2 separate regions of the Homo sapiens genome follow, and region 2 is linked to region 1. Evidence: promoter capture Hi-C in 16 types of primary human blood cells and fetal thymus (Javierre and others, 2016). All regions are on one chromosome and are shown on one strand. The core of a region is centred on a gene start or on the middle of the fragment in contact, and the rest is flanking DNA. Distances in the headings are between cores, read along the strand shown.

Region 1 (6,633 bases), core at 1,061-3,560:
CCTTAAGAGTCATCACCACTCCCTAATCTCAAGTACCCAGGGACACAAAAACTGCGGAAGGCCGCAGGGACCTCTGCCTAGGAAAGCCAGGTATTGTCCAAGGTTTCTCCCCATGTGATAGTCTGAAATATGGCCTCGTGGGAAGGGAAAGACCTGACCGTCCCGTAAAGGGTCTGTGCTGAGGAGGATTAGTAAAAGAGGAAGGAATGCCTCTTGCAGTTGAGACAAGAGGAAGGCATCTGTCTCCTGCCTGTCCCTGGGCAATGGAATGTCTCGGTATAAAACCCGATTGTATGCTCCATCTACTGAGATAGGGAAAAACCGCCTTAGGGCTGGAGGTGGGACCTGCGGGCAGCAATACTGCTTTGTAAAGCATTGAGATGTTTATGTGTATGCATATCTAAAAGCACAGCGCTTAATCCTTTACATTGTCTATGATGCAAAGACCTTTGTTCACGTGTTTGTCTGCTGACCCTCTCCCCACAATTGTCTTGTGACCCTGACACATCCCCCTCTTCGAGAAACACCCACAAATGATGAATAAATACTAAGGGAACTCAGAGGCTGGCGGGATCCTCCATATGCTGAACGCTGGTTCCCCGGGTCCCCTTATTTCTTTCTCTATACTTAGTCTCTGTGTCTTTTTCTTTCCTAAGTCTCTCGTTCCACCTTACGAGAAACACCCACAAGTGTGGAGGGGCAACCCGCCCCTACACAAACTAATACAGGTATCTTCTAACAGTCTTTCTGCATCCATGAGTGCTCCTTTTCCAATTCATCCTCCATGCATTTTCTCAAAAACAAACCTGATCACATCTCTCTGCTTCAAGCCTTTAATACCTTCTCAGTGCTTTTAGGATAAAACGAGATTCCTTAATAAAGTCCAGAAGGTCTTGGATAGGACATCCATTGCCTAACTTCACAGATTCATCTCTCACTAAACTCTGCATCACTCTCCACATTTTAGTAAGGCTAGTTTTCCTTCAGTTCTTTGAGCATACCATGATCCCTGGCCCCATTGGGCCTTTACACACAGTATTGCCTCTGCTTACTATGCCAACATCACCACCCCACCGCCACCACCACTCATCTCTTTATACTGCTTAATGCCTGCTCCGTCTTCAGATGGCGTCTCAAGAAACACTTGTCCAAAGAAGCCTTCCCTGACTCCTTTAACTAGATGAGCTTCTCCTCATACATGTTTATCACTGCACATATTACTTGTTTCTAAATACACATTTATTTTTGTGATTAATTTGTGTTCAATGCCTGTCAATCCAAAAAGACCTTAAGCTCAAAGGAGGAAAAGACTGTGTCTGGTTCGCTCTATTCTATCTGTAGTCCCCAGCAAAAGAGACACACAAGTATTTTTTCAATGAATCAATCAACATAGAAGCGACAGTGGAAGCCGTGCAATCGAGCAGTAGTGCGTAAGAATGGGACTTGGAAAGATAAAAGGGACCAGAATAACCGTAGGAAAATATTATAGTTTAGGAATCAGAGGAAAAAATTGTTTTAAGCCGTCAAAAAGTTAAAAAAAAATAAGCAAAAAGGGAAATAGCATCACTAAAGGCATGGAAGGATATCATTCCAAACAGAACAGGCCACTGAATTTGACAAGTAGGCAGTAACTAGTGATCTGACAAAATTAATAATGTAAGATGCAGGGAAGGGGAAAATATATGGAGAGAAGCTCGCATCTTTCCAACTCCTCTGGAAGTACGATTATAACTTTGTCGATATACTACAACTACCATGACGGCCCGAATCAAACAATAATCTAAAGAAATATGTGTGCCATTTTAGATTTCAACATTATTCCTCTATCCGCATGAGTCATTTTTAGCTGACTGCACATATAAAGTTTAAGGATAAATGTTTTAACATTTGCACCTAAAACGTTGTTTCTCAAAGAACCTTACCTCCCAGAATCATCAAAACAGACCTCCGTGTGTCCCTCTGTATGCCCATATCTCATTGGCTTCCGTGTGGCAGGCATGTTTTCCTTTACCTATCTGAAAATGTTTTATAAAAGCCAGTCTTATTATTTCAAAAGAGAAAAGCAGCGAGGCTAGGGATAGGAAGAGAGCTTAGTCTCCTCTAGGGCCCGTTCTCCGCAGCCCGGTTTCCCCCACCCGAGTGACACCAGCGGGATAAGGCAGAGGGTCTGTCAGACAATAAGCCGGAAAGGGAACACGCATCTCCTTGGTGGACGCGGGCAGCCGGAGTGGGGACTCACCCGGGTGACCGAGCCTCCGCCACTGAGGATCCACAAGAGCTGCTTCCCGCGCTTCGGCTCGCTCACCACACTGCGCCTGCGCCGACCCGCCCACGCCCAGCGCAGGTCCCGACAGAGGTCGCCGGGTGGTGGCGTCAGCTGCGGCGCCCTCCGCGTGGAAATTAGCCGGTTGCCCGGGCAAATCAGGGAGGAAGGGAGGGAGCTGAACACGGAAGTGGTGGCGGCGCCCAGGGAACCGGCGGAGGCGATGACCGTGACGGCTGGGTTGGGACCGGAACGCCGAAGCGGGGTTGGGGGTGGCAGAAAAGCATCTGCTTTGTAAGACCTACACGAGGTGCAGGAGTGGTTGGGCCTCCCCTCTCCACTTAAGCAAGCGCCCAGACTGATGGCGATGGTGATGGCAGCAGTTACTCGCACAACCCCAGTTAAGCTGCGCTCCGGGAGGTGAGTGGGGGAAGGGTGGCCGCTGCCTGGCCTCGCAGGCCGGGGTCTTGTTCCTGCCCTCCAGGCTCTCCTCCCAGGAAACAATATCCGGATCCCTAAAAGGATCCGGTCTCTTTCTTGGGGCCCAGTTAGCAGACAGATCTTTGAGCATCTTCTCTGGAAAAGAAGGCGAGATCTTCTAGAGCCTCTAATCTTGGCATCCTTCGTGCCCTCACCTTGTCGCTTCTGTAGAGATAAAGAAGGAATGACTTAATTTCTGTTCCGGTTGGTTCTCTTGGTACCTGAAGGTATAATTAATTAATGCTCAATTAATGCTTATTCTTTGCGACTCTATATATCCGTTATGAAGAAAGTAACTTGTGTTCTCTATTCAGATCCCACCTAAAGTTTACTGAAGTGAATATTTATAACCAAAAGAAGAGTTATAACTTAGTAGCCTTGAGCACTTACATTTGATCCATGCAATATCTGCTAAAGTCTTGGCCACTAAGTTTAAGTTTATGCTTTTCTTGTATCTTCATTCTCCATATTGGTACAGCAGCCTGTGATGAAAACCTTCAGAATGATATTCTTTCATTTGTACTTATCTTTGAGAATTTTTCTGCGTTTTTGTGATACCTTCCAGTATCAATCACATTTATTTTATTACCTGAGACGTTTTTCTGTTGAAGAGGTTTCCCTATTGTTTTTTTCAATCTAGTTCCATTGTGAAAAGTTGCAAACACACAGGCAAACCGTCGTGTTCTTACCGTGGGTGGCATTGTGTGAGGCGTTGTTTTTAGTACTAGAGCTCCAGATAGCCTTGCTAGACGCTGAGGTTTGTATATGAATGAAGAGGAAGAATGATTGGCTTAAAAACAACTTGGGATTTGTGGAAAAATAACCCACTGTTGATCTCCCGAAAGAGCAGTGGTACCAGAGATGATGCTTTCTGAGTGACCTAATTTTTTTTTTTTGGAGATCATTTGTTTTTTGGATAGACTGGCTTATAAATTTTTTCGTTCAAGTAACAATATCATTGGCTAGAGTACATAGAGTTCAAGATGAACTCTCATAATATTCGTCTCTATGTTGAATAAAGCGTGGTGAGATTTCTGGTTAGTACTATTCAGAGCTCAGCATAAGAAGAATCTGCAAATTGGAACAAGTTATAGCTACAAAATGCCTTCACTATAATATCTGTAATACCCATGAGACTATGATTGATGTCCACACATCTGTCATTTTCTCTTATCAATCAAGCCATTTGATTCATAGGTTAAAGAACAATTTTCTTTGCAGATTTTGCATGTATGGTAAAAGCTTGAGCCTCCGAGTTTAACAGTCCTGGGTTTTAATTCTAACTGACACATTGTGTGACCTTGAATATGTTCCTTTACTGAAAATCGAATTCCTCATCTCTAAAATGGAGATGACACCTACCTCCGTCGCATTGTTAGAGTATATAGGAGATACTCATGGATGTATAAAAGTAATTGTTATTAATATCTCATGTTACTAAAGGGGTGCTTTGGGTGGGTATTTAGTGTTTTTTGTTTAAAGTGGGATTTGTTTAAATAATTATCCAGTAAATTTTTCAAATATTAAAAAATGTATTCTTGTTTTTGCTAGTATCATGTTTTCACAATTCCATTTGTTTCAGTCAAATGGCTACAAATTGTAATACCTTCAGTGAGTTTATGGTCTTGCTGAGGGAAATAGACATTCAAACAATATGATCAAGATGATAGTGCAGTAATGAAAGATGTGTAACTTAAATATTAGCAAAATTGTCTAGTTAGTTAAAATAACATAGTTTTTTAAAAAGAAATCAGTGTAGCTGTGTCACTGATAGGAGTATCAAAAATTTTCCAAATGTAGTTATTTGTCATTAACAGTGCTTATCTCATAGGTGTGGGTGGCTAAATGAACTGACTGAAAATGATGCCAAAGTCACAGATTGAATTGCAGTGATGGTTAGTTAGCTTTGCTGTGTTGTAACCACTCATACTACCCTTAGACTCACAAATATTTTTGCTCCCAAGGACAATTGGGTGAGAAAACATGGGTACATTGCCATTCTACCAATGATGGTATTACCTATATAAAATCATGTGATCTTACAGGATTTATCTAAGAGGATATATCAGTATTGGCTTATGGAAGGAGTTTAAAAAATTATTTTCTAGTAAAATATGTACTTGGTGTAAAAATGATTAATCTTGTGAAAGGTAAGGCTAGAAGAGTGTAACAATAGCCAAGGAGACCAAAGTATTGAAAAAAGAAACATTGAAGGCACTTTAGAAATGTGAAGATTTTTATATTTCCAAATGTGTCCTGAAACTTACTAGCCTATTTAATAATTTTGGGGTAAATAGTACTTGTCTGTATGTATACTTAATATGATATAAAAGGCAATACAGTAAAAGTCGTCCTCCTACTCATACTCCCAGCCATCCAGTTCCCCTGGCTAAAGACAGCCAGTATTTGATTCTTGTATTACATTAACACTAGATCCTTACTACAGCAAGATGAGATAATCAGTGTTATATAGATAGAAAAACAGAAAAGTTGTGATTTATCTAGTCTTTATCTAGTCACACACCTGCGAAATGTCAGAGCTAGAAATAGAACCCAGGTCTTTCACCTAGTCCAAGGTAGTCTACCGCACTGATTCTCCAAATCATAGCTGTTGCCACAAAACTTAGAATTTAGTAAAACATAAAGTGTAGAGTCACCTTTTACTAATTTGTACGTAAAACTTGTTACCCAACCTTAAATGTAAGCATATGTAATTGTTATAAAGCAGTGAAGAAAATATAATACAATCTTATAAAATCTTTGCCTGTTTCTACTTAAATCTATTTACTAAGCTTCTAAAAAACTACAATTTTTTGTTTTAAAGAATTTAAAACTTTTTAAAAATAATATATTTAACATCAGGAATAATATAAAGTGCTTTGTGATATTTCAGAAATGGAAGAGCCTCCTTGACTTCAGATTTCTGAGGCACGTTTTTGTGCAGATTTTCTAGCCTTACATATAGCCTTTGTTTCCCCTCCCCTTTTTCTTAAAAAAATAGTGTTCTTTAAAAAAAGTGTTCCCACCTCTCATTTTTAGAAATGTACTTCTTCTAACATGAAAAGTTCTGAGTAATACTAGGAAGCAGTTAATATTTCTTTTCATTAAGTTCAGTGTATGTTGTTTTCATACCTTTTACTCCTGGCAGTAAAAACATGAGGTAGCTGGCATTATCCAGATTTTACAGTGGGAGAACTTAAGCTAAATTAGATTTTTTTAAACCAGGTAACATACCTAGTGAGTGGAAAAGTCTGAATTGTAGCCCACATTTGACAGTTCAGCAGCTCATGCTATTTCATCTTCACCATGTTTATTTTCAAATATGGTATAGTGAAAAACAGTGTAGGTTGTTAATTTTTTACAGATCTTTAAAACTTTAAAATTTTCTCTTTATGCTTAATTGGTCTCACAAGAAAAAAGAATTCAAGGAAATAAGCCAAAATGTCAAAATTGCTTGCTTTTAAATAATGGAATTATAGCTTTTTTCCCCCTCCTTTTTAAACTTTTCTGAATGGTCCATGTATTATACAATGAGCATATATTGTTTTTATCATAACAAATTACAGATTGGAAGAAAAAATAAATCTGTTCAATCTAATTTATTCCATAAAATGGTTCAGTATTATATCTTAAATATTCTGTTTCTTAAATTCTGTTAATCTTCCTTCTGCTTTTAGAAGTTCAGGTACTGCCAGCTCGTAGTTTCTGCTTTCTTCACTCTAGATTAGCCCCTTCAGTGATGGGTTCCTAGACCTCTCTCCTTATCTTTAGCTAATAAGCTTAGGGAATGTACACTGATGTTAACAGATTAGCCCATTAATGTTTCCCCAAACTTTCTTCCACAAAAGGATTTATGGCAAAGTAAAGACAGGAAGCTATGGTTTATGCAG
Region 2 (6,633 bases), core at 2,003-4,502, 130 kb after region 1:
TCTAGCTGGAGTTAGCTACATTTACTCGTTACTTGTTAATCCAGGTACCTGCTAAGAAACTTGACTTCAATCATACTATTTCTATAATTTTATCCGAAAGTTCAAAAAGCGGAACAGGAGTTACAATGTTCTTAAGTCTGCTGCTTGTTAACAAGTAAATGTAGCTAACTCCAGCTAGACAATAATTGAGTTAGAATACAAGGTATTCTAATCCTGAAGTTACTAGCTTGTATCTTATTAGAAATATCTGTTTTGGCCAGGCGCCTTGGCTCACGCCTGTAATCCCAGCACTTGGGAGGCAGCGGCGGGTGGATCACGAGGTCAGGAGATTGAGACCATCCTGGCTAACATGGTGAAACCCCGTCTCTACTAAAAATACAAAAAATTAGCTGGGCGTGGTGACATGCGCCTGTAGTCCCAGCTACTTGGGAGGCTGAGGCAGGAGAATCACTTGAACCTGGGAGGCGGAGGTTGCAGTGAGCCGAGGTAGTGCCACTGCACTCCAGCCTCAGCAACAGAGCGACACTCCGTCTCAAAAAAAAAAAAAAAATTTATCTCCACTTCTTTCAAGTTACTTTTTAAAAAAGATATGCTCTATTTTTCTAGTGTCCAGCTTTACTTTGCCTTTATTACACAAAGTTGCTTATTTGTATGATGCCCTTTGAGGATGTTTTGGGGAATCCAAAACATTTTTAAAGAGTACTTATGACTCAAATGCAATTATGAATCTTCTTAGCAAACAATAGTAAACTACAAGATATACAAAGTAGGCCGGGCATGGTGGCTCACGCCTGTAATCCCAGCACTTTGGGAGGCCAAGGCTGGCAGATCATGAGGTCAAGAGATCAAGACCATCCTGGCCAACATAGTGAAACCCCGTCTCTACTAAAAATACAAAAATTAGCTGGGCGTGGTGGCGCGTGTCTGTAGTCCTAGCTACTCGGGAGGCTGAGGCAGAAGAATCGCTTGAACCCAGGAGGCAGAGGTTGCAGTAAGCCGAAATCGTACCACTGCACTCCAGCCTAGGCAACAGAGTGAGACTCCACCTCCAAAAAACAAACAAAAAAATCTAGAAGCATATCTAGCCCATAACAGTTGTTCAGTACACATTAACTCCCCCCCCTTCAATATGCTCTGCCATCTGTCAAGAAAACAATCTCAAGGTACTTTCTACAAAGCCTGGTAAAAAGTGTCCATCTCTCAACCACCTTGGGGAGGCATTAGCACTGCTGCTTTGTAGATGATGAAAGTGAAGCTAAAGAGAATTAATTACTTGCCCCAAAGTTGCATAGCTAGTAAGTCACAGAGCTCTTCTCAGCTCAGAACTGTTGAGCACCAAAGTTGTAGTATGTTTAGCACCAAAGGATACCATATTGCTTCTTTTCTTCTTACTGCTGCAGAATTTACCCAACTAAACGTGACCATTTAGTATCCTGAAACCTTAAGCTTTAGTTTCCTCATTTATAAAAAGGGAGTACTGCCTATATGTTGCAGGGTCATTATGAAATTTATTAAAAATATATGTCTGGCACCTTTTACCATCTTAACAATCTGAAATGGTATTTAGTATCAGCAACTGTTAAACTCTTATTAACATGTTAAAGAAATACCTGCTTTCAGGAATACTCAAAAACAAAGTCTTCTTCACATGTTCACTTTTCGTATTCTGAGGACCGGCATTTTCTGGTGATGTAGTTTGTTGTGGAATGCCCATCTCATTTCTACTCTGAGATACAGCTTTGTTGACAGACTTAGGTGTTCCAAGTCTTTGAGAAGGGCCTTCAGAAGAGACAGAAAGTCCTAGAAGATGAGAGAAATCACCTCAATACCAAATAGTTCTTTTGCTTTTCATTATAACTAGGAATACGGTGAAAATCCTATCAATTAGCCTCTTTCTCCTGTCAAATAATGTCTGTTAAAGACAAATGCCTGGGACTTTCTGTTAAAGATAGTATTTAAATGCATATTAGATGCTGCTTCCTTTTGACATCCCACTACTTTTACATGAACAGAGATAATTTTTTTGTTGTTGTTGAGACAGAGTCTTACACTGTCACCCAGGCTGGAGTGCAGTGGTGTGATCTCTCGGCTCACTGCAACCTCCGCCTCCCAGCTTCAAGTGATTCTCTTGCCTCAGCCTCCCCAGTAGCTGGGACTACAGATGCATGCCACCACGCCTGGCTAATTTTTGTATTTTTAGTAGAGATGAGGTTTCACCATGTTGGCCAGGCTGGTCTCGAACTCCTGACCTCAGGTGATCCACCTGCCTCAGATTCCCAAAGTGCTGGGATTAGAGGTGTGAGCCACTGCGCCAGGCCTGAACAGAGATAACCTTTTTTTTTGTTTTTGTTTTTTTAGAGATGGAGTTTCATTCTTGTTGCCCAGGCTGGAGTGTAATGGCATGATCTTGGCTCACTGCAACCTCCGCCTCCTGGGTTCAAGTGATTCTCCTGCCTCAGCCTCCCGAGTAGCTGGGATTACAGGCACCCGCCACCACGCCTGGCTAATTTTTTGTATTTTTAGTAGAGATGAGGTTTCACCATGTTGGCCAGGCTGGTCTCGAACTCCTGACCTCAGGTGATCCACCTGCCTCAGCCTCCCAAAGTACTGGGATTACAGGTGTGAGCCACCGTGCCTGGACACAGATAATCTTAAAAAGCAGAACTCTACAAGGACAAAGGAAACTAAAGAAGAGATAGCAACAATAACAATATTTTGGAAGCTATAATGTAGATTGTTGAGTGGGACTTAGCAGACTCAAGAAAACTAATTCTAAGCCACCAATCAAGAAAAATGAATTGGCCGGGCGCGGTGGCTCATGCCTGTGATCCCAGCACTTTGGGAGGCTGAGGCAGGTGGATCACGGGGCCAGAAGATCGAGACCATCCTGGCTAACATGGTAAAACCCCGTCTCTACTAAAAAAATACCAAAAAATCAGCCGGGTGTGGTGGCAGGCGCCTGTAGTCCCAGCTACTTGGGAGGCTGAGGTAGGAGAATGGCGTGAACCCAGGAGGCGGAGCTTGCAGTGTGCTGAGATCGTGCCACTGCACTCCAGCCTGGGCAATAGAGTGAGACTCTGCCTCAAAAAAAAAAAAGAAAGAAAAATGAGAATCAACCCAATTTCTACCACATAACCCCTCAAAAGAACTGGTGGCTCCAAGTATCTCTGCAAGTGGAGATGAAAATGGAGCTAAACACAGAAGGAATGGCTCAAAGTCAGTTTAAACAAGAAGAGCTCAGATTCCTTTCCTCATTCTGCACAGCAAAGCAACTGTCATCACCCACCCCCATCACCAAAAACAGAAGGGTCTCTGGTTTAGAGGATACCAGATACAGTTGAGAGACAGGGTACTACATGGAAAATAAGGGAAATAAGTGAATATTTACACAAAGTGTTGAGACACTTAGCTTTCTTCCCCTACATGGCTCCTGAAAGACTGGCAGCCAGAATGATACCTTCCAGGAAGCAGATGGAAAGCATCTTCTCTGGGGAATCTGAGTAGACTATGAGAAAAGTCTTAAATGCAGTGATGTGTAGGTTCCCAGCATAATGGCCCCGCTAACAGAAGGGCCCCGAAAGTAAAGGTCCTACCCATGTGCAGAGAGTTTCCAGTCAGCTTTTTAGTGCCCTATTCTTAACCATGTGCAGGCAGTGAGAGATCACCAGATTCCCGAGGAAAGCCTCTAAATACAAGAGACAGAAACCAAAAACAACTAGATGAAAGTACCCTGAAACAAATACTGTCTATAGTGGATGAAGAAAACATAAAAGCTATCATTAATATCCTTGGAAAGATAAAACAATACACTGATGAAACAAGTGCAGAATGTTATAAAATGAACATTTGGAGAGTAAGAAAGGGCTCTTGGGAATTAAAAACATGATAGCCAGCATGAAAGTTGAGGAAATCTCCAGGAAGTAGAAGAAAACAGTAAGTACAGGAAAGAAAGATTAAAAAGTCTACCAGAAGAAAAATGTGTTTTTGAAAAAGATCAAACCTTGTCAAGAGAGATGGTGGTAAACAACAAAACTCCAGTAAGACTCCAGTAAGTCCAAAAGACTCCAGTAAGAATTGAAAGTAGTTGCTTCTAGGGATTGGCAAATGGAATGAGAAGGGCTTCTTCAGGGACTACTGTTTTGTAATTAGCCTCATATCAACTATGTGCTCTGTAACTAAAACTCAATTTTAAATGACCAATTTTTGCCATAAACCTTAATCTCCCTATCTATAAGGACTGAGTTGAGTATATGAAAGAACAGAATGATGAGCTTATAGCTGTAAAAACCACGAAGATCCTTGACAAGTAGTAGAATGGAGTCATGTTATTAGCAGTAGTGGGAGATTCCTGGGTATCCAGGGAGTGTAGCTGCTTAAAGGAAACAAAAGTACACCAGATTTGATACCTAAACTAACAAGAATATTATAATATACTTGAGGATCACTATAAATATCAGATAGCAGGTATTAGAGAACAATTTAGGTTTACTTTGAAAAAACTTCCTGGTGGACATCTATGGCTTATAAATAAATAATTTCAATTGAGATAAATTCAATTCAAGAAAAATAGTCTGTGGAAAAAAAAGCTATGACAAACACTGTGAGAAAATCACAAAAAAATGATTTCCTGAATATTAAAAACTGCTTTTACTGGAATATTTTTAAATTGGAAAATTAGTACGTTTACTACCTTTCAAAAAGATCTGAGCAAAAGTTTTAATACAAATGCAAATAAAACCAAATCCACTTTGCATAAACTTCCTTTTATTTTTTAGAGATGGAGTCTTGCTCTGTCACTCAGGCTAGAGTGCAGGGGCACAATCATAGCTCGCTGTAACCTTGAACTCCTGGGCTCAAGTGATCCTCCTGCCCCAGCCTCCCAAGTAGGTGGGACTACAGGCATGTACTGCCAGGCTCGGTTAATATTTTATTTTTTTGTAGAGAGGGGATCTCACTAAATTGCCCAGGCTGGTCTCAAACTCTTAGCTTCAAGTGATCCTCCTGCCTTGGTCTCTCAAAGTACTGGGATTATAGGCATGAACCAACACACACAGCACATAAGCTTCATTTTAAAGCACAGCTAGACAAGTGTGATAGCTGGATGCTCAAGTTTCCTTTGCATTATAAATTCTAACCAAACTTCTAACTGACCTGAAGAAAATCAGTTTACTTCTTCATGCTTCCGTCATTTCTCTTACCTCTTGGGATCCTGTGACCTTTCTCATAGACTGTAGGGTTACATGGTAATTACATTACAGATGTGAAATCACTTAGAAAGTAGAAAAGCAATCTTAGAAGACTTATCGCACTTAAACTAATCTGATCATACCCATCAAAATGTGATTTACAGTGTTTGTGAGCGAGCATAGTCTATTTTCTAAAAATCACAGAAAAACTTATGTCTCTTCATGTAAAAAACTATTTTTCACCTTACACAAGCCCCCATCTATCCCAAATATTTCTCTTAAGTAGTCTCAGGAAAAACAAAAAAAATAAAAAATCAAAAACAACTAACCTGAGAATAATTTAACAGGACTTTCAACTCTGAAAAATCCAGCATCGAACACTATTTTATCAACTTCCTTTGGTATCACAGAAACTGCTGTTTCAGCACATTCTTCCTGCCTAATTCTCTCTCTCATTGCATTTTTTATGGCAGCTAGGCGATTTCTCGCTGCAATTCTTCCAGCATCATCCTGTTTTGGTTTACTTGCTATACCTGAGACAACTTTTTTCTGCAAAGAGAAACTAACATAGTAAAGCTGCCCATTACCATCTTACAAGAAAAACACACAACAAACACAAATTCATCACTTAAAAATTTAATTTTTAAAAATAAAGTATACATAAAATATTTCACATTCATCATATATTTATCAAGTTCCTAGTATGTGCTAAAAGGTAAAAAGGTAAAGGACAGAGTTGCTGCCCTCAAGGAGTTTGCAGCTTAGTAGAAGATCTGGGAAGAATAGTAAGAAGGATAAATGTCCTGTTAGAAATAAATTTAGGGGACATCCTTTAGATTATAACCATGACACCCCCCCCCCATAAAAAAGAAAAAGCAAAAAAAGTAAATAAAAAAAAAGTAAAACATTAAAAGAAAATAAATAAGGATGACACCTAAACCAATCTTCAGGCATCAGGAAAGGTTGTAGGAAGTAGCACCTATGCTGAAACCATATTTCATCAAACTAAAAGATGGGGTGAGGCAAGTGCTAGAGAGATGTTTCCAAAGCCAGAAATGAAACAAAGAAAAGTGGATTTAAACAATAGCTAGATTATAATAAAAATCACCTGCATGTAATGGTCTTAAGAAAGTCACATTTACACAGAGGACAAGGGAACAGAGAGTTATTGGTAATTTTTAAGCAGAAGATTAACATCAAGCTGGTGTTTTAGAAAGATCACTCAGACTAAGGAGTAAGAGATGAAAAAAGTGGACAGATTCAAGAGATATTTGAAAGGTAGAATTGAGAGGACTTACTCATCTATTGGATGTGTGTGGGGTGGAGATGGTGAAATAAAGCAAGCAAAGGGTATCGCTCAAAAGGATATCTCAAAAGAGATATTGAGACTTCTATCTTGAACACCTGGTGGGATGGTAACAGCATTATGAGACAGGGCAACATTGGT

The links. Contacts are between HindIII fragments. The CHiCAGO score rates a contact against its expected background, and 5 or more counts as called.
Region 2: a fragment that was not itself captured here is called in contact with the fragment with the promoter of WDHD1 in region 1 in 3 of 17 cell types (M1 macrophages, M2 macrophages and erythroblasts); the score reaches 7.4 in M1 macrophages.

Annotation. Positions count from the first base shown.
Region 1 is chr14:55,024,789-55,031,421 of GRCh38, forward strand. It overlaps WDHD1 (WD repeat and HMG-box DNA binding protein 1), which reads right to left and starts at 2,311. Exons shown (of 26, transcript NM_007086.4): 1 at 2,240-2,311; 2 at 1,923-2,015. The coding sequence starts at 1,999. It overlaps SOCS4 (suppressor of cytokine signaling 4), which reads left to right and starts at 2,448. Exons shown (of 3, transcript NM_199421.2): 1 at 2,448-2,683. RefSeq lists enhancers at 2,133-2,660, 2,661-3,187 and a silencer at 2,289-2,338. The HindIII fragment of the contact is 4,247 bases long and covers 1-3,983 here.
Region 2 is chr14:55,153,007-55,159,639 of GRCh38, forward strand. DLGAP5 (DLG associated protein 5) reads right to left here. Exons shown (of 19, transcript NM_014750.5): 14 at 5,516-5,735; 15 at 1,611-1,800. Among named protein-coding and RNA genes, the nearest start is that of LGALS3, 27 kb to the left of the region's middle. The HindIII fragment of the contact is 3,616 bases long and covers 1,445-5,060 here.